2 separate regions of the Homo sapiens genome follow, and region 1 is linked to region 2. The links are contacts of gene promoters, found by promoter capture Hi-C in human tissues and cell types (Jung and others, 2019). All regions are on one chromosome and are shown on one strand. The core of a region is centred on a gene start or on the middle of the fragment in contact, and the rest is flanking DNA. Distances in the headings are between cores, read along the strand shown.

Region 1 (4,371 bases), core at 1,782-4,281, 34 kb after region 2:
CAAAGGAAACTCATAATGGACAGAAAGAGAGAATGAAGCAGACAGGCCATCTCCATTCCAGATAACTTTCCAGCTTCCAGCTTCAGCCCCTGCAAGACCCAGCCTCATCTTAGGTTTCATAGGATCCAATAAACTCCCTTTTTCTTAAGCTCATTTGAATGAATTTCAGTTCTTCCTACCTACCTGACTCCAACTAGAACTGTCTTTACATCTGCTATTTACATAATAATTTAAGGGAAATCAAAAGTCTATGGATTTAGAAAACTCTTTCCTTTAACTGGAGATCATCAGGAATCCTCCACTCATATTAAAAATATAATCTTCGCTTATAGTTGGAACACCCCCATTTCGAATTTTCAAGCTGGAGGAATCTCAGAATAGGACAGCGAGGAGGTTGACGGCCTGCAGTCATGTGCTAGTTAGTATCCTAGGAAGGACTCAATTACAGAATGCCTGACTCCAGTCCAGGGACCTTGCCACAACCTTACCCCATCCCCGCCACCCCTGGGCTCAGGGAAACAAATCCCAATTCATTGCTTAATCGGGCTGAGGACTCAGCCCCACCAGTCCTCCACCGAATCTAACTACAGGAGGAAATGCTCCAAGTCCTCGGCTGAGTTCTCCGTAGTCAGACCCCTCTGTCAGGAAAGTGGCTTAAATGAATTTAAACCCACCCAGGTTGGCCTGTGAGGGCTGTTCCATTAAAGCTGAAGGCCAGGCAGGATTCCGCTTGTTGAAATCTGTGTTCCTTTTGTACACTTTTAAAGTCACATCTGGTGCTGACCTTAGAAACAGCACTTGTGTGCTGAATGAATGCAGTGTGACTGCGTGTGCTCAGGGTTTTGGGACTTCTCTGAAAGGCGCTCCCAACCCTCCCAAACTGGCACAGGATGTCCGGCCGTGGTCGGCTTCCTCCACCGCGGCAGAGGATGCCAACTGAAACACGACCTCCTGCCAAGACTCTGGGACCACGCTCAGATCCAGGTCCCTGGGGGCAAAAGGCAGCTCTGTGCCAAGTTCTCCAAAGCCCGGCTCCTCCCGGGCTCTCATCCTGAAAGTGCTCTGGCCTCCTCTTTGGAAAAGGCCCATCAATCTTCTGAGGATTTCTGACACCGGTCGGAGCGCTGGAAACTGCAAGCCCTTCTCAGTCTGTCAGCTGCCTCACACTCTCCAGCCCGGCGAAGCTGTGTGCAGTGTCTGGAAAAGCAGTTACTGGTTTGGTTGTGGTCTGCCTTTGCAGCTGAGCTGGTTCCAAGTGCCACGTCCTCCACCGGCTGCTCTGGCCCAGGACACTCAGGAAAGGTGACAAGGCGGCCCCCTTGCACACTTGCCTGGAGCTATGCTCCCTCCATTTCTTGGAATCCAAGTATATTTTCTTTTGTGGAATGAATGAATACAAAGGGTGCCACCCCTTTGCCCAGCCCCCCATCTGAAATTCTTCCTCCAGCTGTCTCGATAGCGATGCTTGACAGACTGGAGGAGAATAGTTTGAATGAAGCTTCCCAGTGCAATATTTCCCTGGGCTTGAGTTGAATTGATCTAGCCTGTGATGCCATTTATCTTCACAACCTTCTTAGAGAGGAGCAGGGGAACAAATCTCTTTCGTTCGCATATGGGGAAACTGAGACTAAGGGAAGCTACAGAGACAACTGTAGGGAAAAAGCCAGCAGAGCAGGGCCAATCTGAGAAAATGCATGCTGATGAGATAGTCTTTTCCTGAGGGATTTACACAATCACTGGGCATAGAGGACAACATGGGAGGGGACTTAGGAAGAACTGGAGATGGGCCCCCTTACAAAATTCGTTTGGGTGAACTCAAATTTAAACGTGCACCCCCACCTCCAAGTCTGGTACTCTTGTGCTGGTGCCCCAAAACCTAGGACAGGAGATGGCAGCTCCAGCGAGGTTTCCCTGATCACTCCTGTCCCCATCCAGCCCTCCCCTCTAAGCTATTCTCTCAATCACAGCCTGAACCACCCTTCCTTCTTTATGGTTTTTTACTGTTTTCAAATTCATGTTGGTCTTCTCTCACTCAGCTAGATTACTTGCTGCTTCTCAAGGGATGGACTGTGCCCTAGATTTTAGAAACCCCAACCCTTCTGGGTTTTCTCTTTGTTTTCTCACTGTTTGCCAAATGATGGTGTCACACACACAGCCCCAGGGGCAGGATCAAAGAAGGCAGTCACTTGGGACTTGGGGGAAAGCAGTCTTGTTTTCCATGAGAAACAACCAGGGGGAGAAAAAAATCAATGTCTGAAATAACTGTTGAGAAAGAAGTGTGGCTTTCTCTTGGAGTCATAGAAAGTGGTTCTGATGTCAGCCTCACACGTAAGAGAATGGATCCAGGGTGAATCCCTAGTAGCTGGCTGAGGCTGACTCAACCCACAGGGAGCTGCCCAGCACATCAAGTATGTGGATTCTCCAGCAGCTACTCCTGCCAGAAACTTCTACCTGTGCCTATTATGCCCATGGCCCCATGATCTCCTGGAACAGCAACCCGAGGGGCCTACCTACCATGTTTCAGCCTCACAGCCAGCCAATTTCACCTCCCTGGCACTACCCATAGTAAATGCCATGAAGGAGACTCAGACTCAGGGGACCACAAATCTGCCCCATCTTGAGCAAATGATTTCCATTCTCTGGCTCTTGGTGTTAGTATCTTTGTAAAACAAAAAAATCAGACTAGCTGATCTGTGAGGGACCCTCTACCTCCAAAACTGCATTGTCTAGACTGGCAGGGAGTGTGTGGGTTTGGTTCTTATTTGGTTGGTTATCTTGTGTATGTCTTGGCCCATGCATGGCCACTTTGGCCCAGGGTGGAGAGCATCATTATCTACACCAAGTACTCTGTAACTAGAGAGTGACTATGTTGCTCCCCTCCAGGGAGGCCAGGGGTGGGCCTAAGGCATCCCAAAAGATGTGTGAAATGTCTTTGAAGTCAATAATTTCCCTTAGAAATTCATGTATATTTTGCATTCTTTTCTATATTATTACTGAGTTGCTTAATATAGGAATTTTTGTCCCCAAATCTTAGGATAAAGTGACCCTCCAGGAGGATGCTTCTTGCTAAAAGAAGCTTGTTTGAGCTTCCTGTAATGAACTGCTACATACTCCTGAAACGGGTTTAAGAAGCACTAATCTGGCCAGGCATGGTGGCTCATGCCTGTAATCCCAGCACTTCGGGAGGCCGAGGCAGGCAGATCATGAAGTCAGGAGATTGAGACCATCCTGGCTAACATGATGAAACCCTATCTCTACTAAAAACACAAAAAAATTAGCCAGGCGTGGTGGTGGGCACCTGTAGTCCCAGCTACTTGGGATGCTGAGGCAGGAGAATGGCATGAACCCAGGAGGTGGAGGTTGCAGTGAGCCAAGGTCACGCCACTGCACTCCAGCCTGGGTGACAGAGCAAGACTCCGTCTCAAAACAAAAACAAAAACAAAAACAAAAACAAAAAAACAAAAAAGAAGCACTAATAAGCACTAATCTGTGGGTGTTTGCAGGAACACCCAGGGCTGAAAATTCATCTTTTGATCCATCCAGGAATCCCTTCTCAGATATTCATCCTTTTCTGTTAAAATGCAAATTCCCTTGGGAAGGGGCTAAAAGTTAGAAAAAAACTGAGACAAATACAAAATTCTTTACTTGTGTCTGAGAGTCAATTACAGCAGGACAGTCCGTGGCTCTTTGGATCAGCAGTGGCTGGTGGCTGAGGATTTTGGTAAACTTCAGTTGAGTCAACACTGTGATTTGACTGTGTCCTTCAGAGCAAGAAGGACTTAGTCTCAGCACTAAGCAGGCCTCCTGGAGAACTGCATTCAGAGCTGGAACCATATGTCAGAGGGATTTGGACTAAACAGCAATGATCTGGACAGAGATCACGGACGTATGTCACATGGGGAATGAATGGAGAGATCAGGATGGGAGTGGGCTGGGAGATGCTCCCAATAGTCATCATGGGAATGGGTTTTTGATTTGTGTAGCTCCAAAGGGCAGAACCTAGACTAGCACTCCTGCATTTTAGGAGTGCAGATTTTAGCTCAGCAGAGGGAAGCCCAGCACCTTGTGAAATGGGGATGGGCTGCCTCTGTAGAAAGAGGGTGCCCTGGTCCTGGGAGAGTCCTCCTATCAGTGGGGTGCTGGAGGGTCACTGGGTTATGGGATCCTTTAAAAGGGTGAGGTGCACATGGAAACACAGCTTCTAGATCCCCTTCAGGGAAGGGCTCGCTATCCAGCTGTGGGGAGTGTGGTCCGCAGAAAGCCTCCAGGGTCAGCTCTTCAGGGTTGGCCTCCCCTGCAGGGAGCCTCCTCTCCTGGGGCACTTGCATCTGGTGACTGAGAGAGGTCTGGACAAGCACAGAAGCCTGGACA
Region 2 (4,567 bases), core at 950-3,449:
CCAAAATTGGGCTCCCTTTCAAAAATATCTGTAAAATCTAATTACCAGGAAAACAGAGTTCTGGCATCCTATGGAAAGTGGGTGCTTCAGTGAAAAAAAGCTGCAAATTCTTCTTGGCTAATCAAGCTGCATTGTGTTACAAAAGGAGTTTGAGGAATTTGGGATAATGAGGGAGCAGGAAAAGTTGGGATAGTGTCAGACTGGACTTTGCAGTGACAGTCCTGGTTTTTTTAAGCCAAGGGCACGGGACGGGAAATATACCACATTCGCTGGCAAGCATGGATTTAGAAAGTACCAGATAAAGAGGCCATGATGGGCTTGGGGTGTGGGGGTGGCATTTCTGATCTCAAGCCCTACCAGGCCTTGCCCAGGGAAGTCTCTCCACCCTTGCCTGGAAGGCTGATGTCATTTCTAGTCTCACTGGGCCTCTAGCCACTGTAGCAGGTCACTTTCCTTCCTTGGGCCTGAGTTTGCTCATCTGTAAAATGAGTGCTCCTAATATCTCTAGGGTCTCTTTCAACTTCAAAATCCTATGACCTTCTATAAAGCAAAGGGCATGCTTTTTGCTCATGTACTTGTGGGGGCAGGGAGCGGGAGCCACCGGACCAAGGAGAATGAAGGACTGAGAGTTTCCACCTCTCACGCAGTTTTGTACCTAGTTTCAACACCCGGGTATCTGGCCCGCTCTGGGAATAATGATTTCTTTCAGCCCAGGACGACCTACCGAGGTGTTTCTACCTCGCTGCCCTGGATTCCTCAACCCCGCCAATGAAGAACAGGGCCAAGCCACCGGACTTCTCGGAGCCTCTCTCCCAGGTCTGGGCACAGTATATCTTCTTTTAAGGGGTCTTCCCTTCCCACTCCCACTCCTCTTTCTGTCCTAGAAGCACCAGAAACTCCGGCTCTAGCCTTGCGCATGGTCCAGCGAGACTTCCCATACAGGCAGCGCACGCCACCCACCCCCAGCTCCCCTCGGCCTTGCGCCCGCGCCGCGGAAGGTTGGGTACCAGCCTCCACAGCTTTGCAGATTGCAAAGATAACGGGAGCTGCCGCTTCGCTTTTCTTTGGCTCCTCCTGGCCTTCATCCTAGTAAAACCAGACAAGCAACCGGAAAAACAAAGCAGCACAGCGGCCAGAGACAATTCGCTTTCAACGGAGCAAGAGACGTACACACCTTGAGAGAAGACGCACGCAGTTCCCGTGCGTGTCGCTGGGAACAGACCTCGCACTACCCCGCGCGGCGACAGGCACCGGGCCAGGCTCGGCTTCACTTGTCCGAGGCTTGGAGGAACTGTGTGCGTGCGCCCATTTCCCCCAGCTTCCCGACTTGACAGCAGCAAGGATCTTTGAGTCCTGCATGAGCGACACCTCGGGCAAGGACTGTACTCTGCTCAGATCTCATCGAGAGGTGCTGGATCCCAGCCTTTCCAGCTCATTTTCCAATTTTCAAGAAAAGACAGCGCGAAGTGAGACTGCAAAAGTCCCAGGAAAACGTCACTCACCAAAACGCTCCCGCGCCTTCCAGGCAGAAGTGCGGTAAAACTTTTGGCAGAAACCACCTGTGGCTGCCGACGGGCCCGCCCCGCTCGGGCCCGCAGGCGCCGCCGAGCCCCGGGCCGCACGCGCCCGCAGAAGTTCCTTTCCAGCCCCGCGCGCCACTTCGCTCCGGGCCGCGGTGCCAGCCAGGAGGCGCGGCGCCCGCTCGCTGGCTCGCTCTCCGCTGGCTCTCCCCTCCCTCCTTCCCTCCCTCCCTCCTCCCGCCTCCTCCGTTGCATGGCTGCCGCACGGAGCCCCTGAATAGCCACCGCAGCCCCCCGCCTCCTGCCCACCGCGCGGAGGGCGCCCCTGCTCCAGCCGGCGCCCCAAGGCGCGCGGACCGCCGGCCTCCTAGCAACGGCCCCCGCAATCGCTTTCCGGCGCAGCCCAAGCAAAGCCACCCGCCCGCCGCCCCGCGACCTCCCGAACTGCCTCGGCTGCCGAGGTGCTGTGGAGATCGCGACCCCGGCAGCCGGCGCCCGAGCCCGGCGCGCGAAGCCGCTCACCTCCGCGCGCCGCCGGCCCTGCGCGCCTCCCGCACTTGGCTCCGGGACGCAGTCCTGGCGTCCTCCTTCGCCGCCGGTGTCCGCCGGTCCCTGCGCGCCCGAGCCTCGCCGGCCGCGCCGCTGTCAGAGTCTCGTGGCGGGGCTGCGCCGGCGGGTATGGAGCTGAGCGGCGGCAGCGGGCGAGCGGGCAGCTCCTCCCTCCCCGCGCCGCGCCTCCGCCCTCCCCGCGCCCCGCCTCCCGCGCCGCGGCTGTCAGCCCCGCGCCCCGCGCCCCGCGCCCGCGCCGCCGGCTCGGGGGGCGCACAGGGCTAAAGGGCCCGGATGTGTGCGGTCGCCTGTCGCTCGCGCCCGCCCCCTCCCCGCCGCGCGGCACATGCACTTGCTGCGCCGCAGCCCCCGCCCGGCTCCGCTAATTTCTATTTTGACAGTAACTGTGGCGAGTGGGCGGCGCGGCGGGGGGCGCCCGGGACTGGCGGAGGCTGCGGGCGGGAGTCAGGACCCGACGCGGAGGCGGAGTGGGGGGGCCGGGCACCGCCACCAACCGCTCGGGGCTCCGCGTCTTTTCTCTTTCTTTCCTTTTTTCTCTCTGCCTCCTCCAGGATTTAAAGGGACAGCCCCGGCAGAGGCGAGGGGGCCAGGCGGCCGCCGTTTCTCCGGTCTCCTGACGCCCTCTGCGGCCCGGCCGGACCCGCCCGCACCCCCAGCGCAGGCTTGGGACCGCCGGGTATTTTTAGGTCCACACCCGACCCGGGGCAGCGGTGCGGCAGAGATGGGCTCTGCCGACCCGGGGCAGCGGTGCGGCAGAGATGGGCTCTGCCGCCCCGGCGCACGGCTATTTTTACAGAGTCCGATGGGGGAGGAAATAAAACAACTCGGCAACTGCTTTTCTACCCGAAAGTCGGGAGCAAGGAGTGGGGGCGAGAAGTTAAGTTTCCCAAATGCTCTCGGCACTCCAGCGAGCGCACCAAGACGCCTAGCCAGCACCTGAAACCGCAAGCTTGCCGCACCCCGGGGCGCCGAATCTCAGCGGGCAATCGCGCTCGGCGGCGCTGCGGCCCGGAGTCCCCACCCCTCTGGAGCCTTGGGCCCCGCACTCCGCACCCCACACGCCGGGGAGCAGCCGCTGGCCGCCCGTCACTCCCCGGGTCGGCCTGGAAGGCGGCCTTCCGAAGCGTCCAATCACCGCGCAACAATGCCAACGGGCGGGCCCGGGGAGGGCTTGTCCCCGCCCCGTCCCGCCGGGCCCCGCCCCCTCGGAGTCTGTCGGGGCAGGAGAATCTCGCTGGGACGCCGAGTGCTCAGCGGTGCTGGAAGCCACGAAGGGCCAGTGCGAGGGGAGGAGGAAGGGTCCTGGCCCTGGAGAGGGCGTGAGCGTTCTCGGGCGAGGCGACACTTGGGCAGATGTTCCCTCCAGCTACGGGCCGGGGAAACTCGAGCTGGCTTTGCCTCCTACCTTTTTGCAGTCCACCCCTCTGCGCTCCAGACAGACATAGGAACCCTCGCCCTCCTTGGTAGTACATCGGAGGCAGCACCCTCGCACGTCAGCGGGTCCTCTCCGGGGCTCCTCCCTCAGAAGCGGGAAAGTTTGTCGTCCTCAAACTCCTACCCGGCTGCGCTTATCTGAGGCGCACCTGGCGCCCAGGAGAGGCGAGATGGCGAATCCCGGCCGCCTAGTGCCCATTCTGGCTACGGATTAATAAAAGGGCAGTGGGGCTGCTGCTGTGTCCTTTAATGCTGAAGACACTGGATGACATTTTTTACAGAATTCACAAAAATAAGTTTGTGAACCTTTGGTGCCTCTTCCTAATATCACTTATTGGGATTTTTTTTTAAACCATTTCATTCATTCGTGTAATAAACGCACATTGCAAGATAGTACGTTGGGAGTAGTGAAAACAAGGGAAAACGGGCTCTGGAATAGGATGTAAGAGTGGAAAACTAGATATGAATAGAGGGATCTGAAACGTAGGGTTTGGGTACAATTATGTCACGTTTAATTTGCCAAAGAGATCTGGTTTTTCCTACTAAGTAAATTTCACCAAATGAACAGTTTGGACAGCCATCTTATCCAAACTATTCAAATGCACATGTAAATCTAGGATAGTCTATCGTGGAACCTAAGGTATGTTCAGGCTCAGGATGTCAGATTTCCAAGTTGCTAAAGCTTCCAGAATGGCAAAATAATATATCTCGCTTTCAGCAGCTGTGGCAGCCACTGCCCTCTCATATTAGGTTTGTCTCTCTGTTAAATTAAGTTGCCTGTCTTGCTTCCCTTCATTAAAGGGTTTTCAGTTACTTGGAATGCTGCTGACCCAGCTGATATGGCCCCGCTTCTAAGCCATAAGTCTGGCTGCGCCTCATGCCAAGCATGCGGATGCATTTAGAGAGCACCTAGAGGATCCCAGCCCTGCAAATGCCCAGACACCTGCAGGAAATAGAAATGTAGTTCTGGGGGTGAGGGCAGCTACAGCCATAAAAAGGGCATTTAGGTTGAGAAAAGAGGGATGTGGGCAGTAAATTAGACT

What was found. The method cuts DNA at HindIII sites, captures the fragments that hold promoters and counts their contacts. A contact is called where the count stands out against the background at its distance.
Region 1: a fragment that was not itself captured here is called in contact with the fragment with the promoter of ZBTB7C in region 2 in 3 of the 25 tissues and cell types used here (heart left ventricle, liver and stomach).

What each region holds. Positions count from the first base shown.
Region 1 is chr18:48,440,630-48,445,000 of GRCh38, forward strand. No RefSeq gene overlaps it. Among named protein-coding and RNA genes, the nearest start is that of ZBTB7C, 33 kb to the left of the region's middle. The HindIII fragment of the contact is 5,648 bases long and covers 208-4,371 here.
Region 2 is chr18:48,407,184-48,411,750 of GRCh38, forward strand. It overlaps ZBTB7C (zinc finger and BTB domain containing 7C), which reads right to left and starts at 2,200. Exons shown (of 5, transcript NM_001318841.2): 1 at 2,043-2,200. RefSeq lists enhancers at 481-1,100, 1,101-1,718 and a silencer at 2,989-3,368. The HindIII fragment of the contact is 7,054 bases long and covers 1-4,567 here.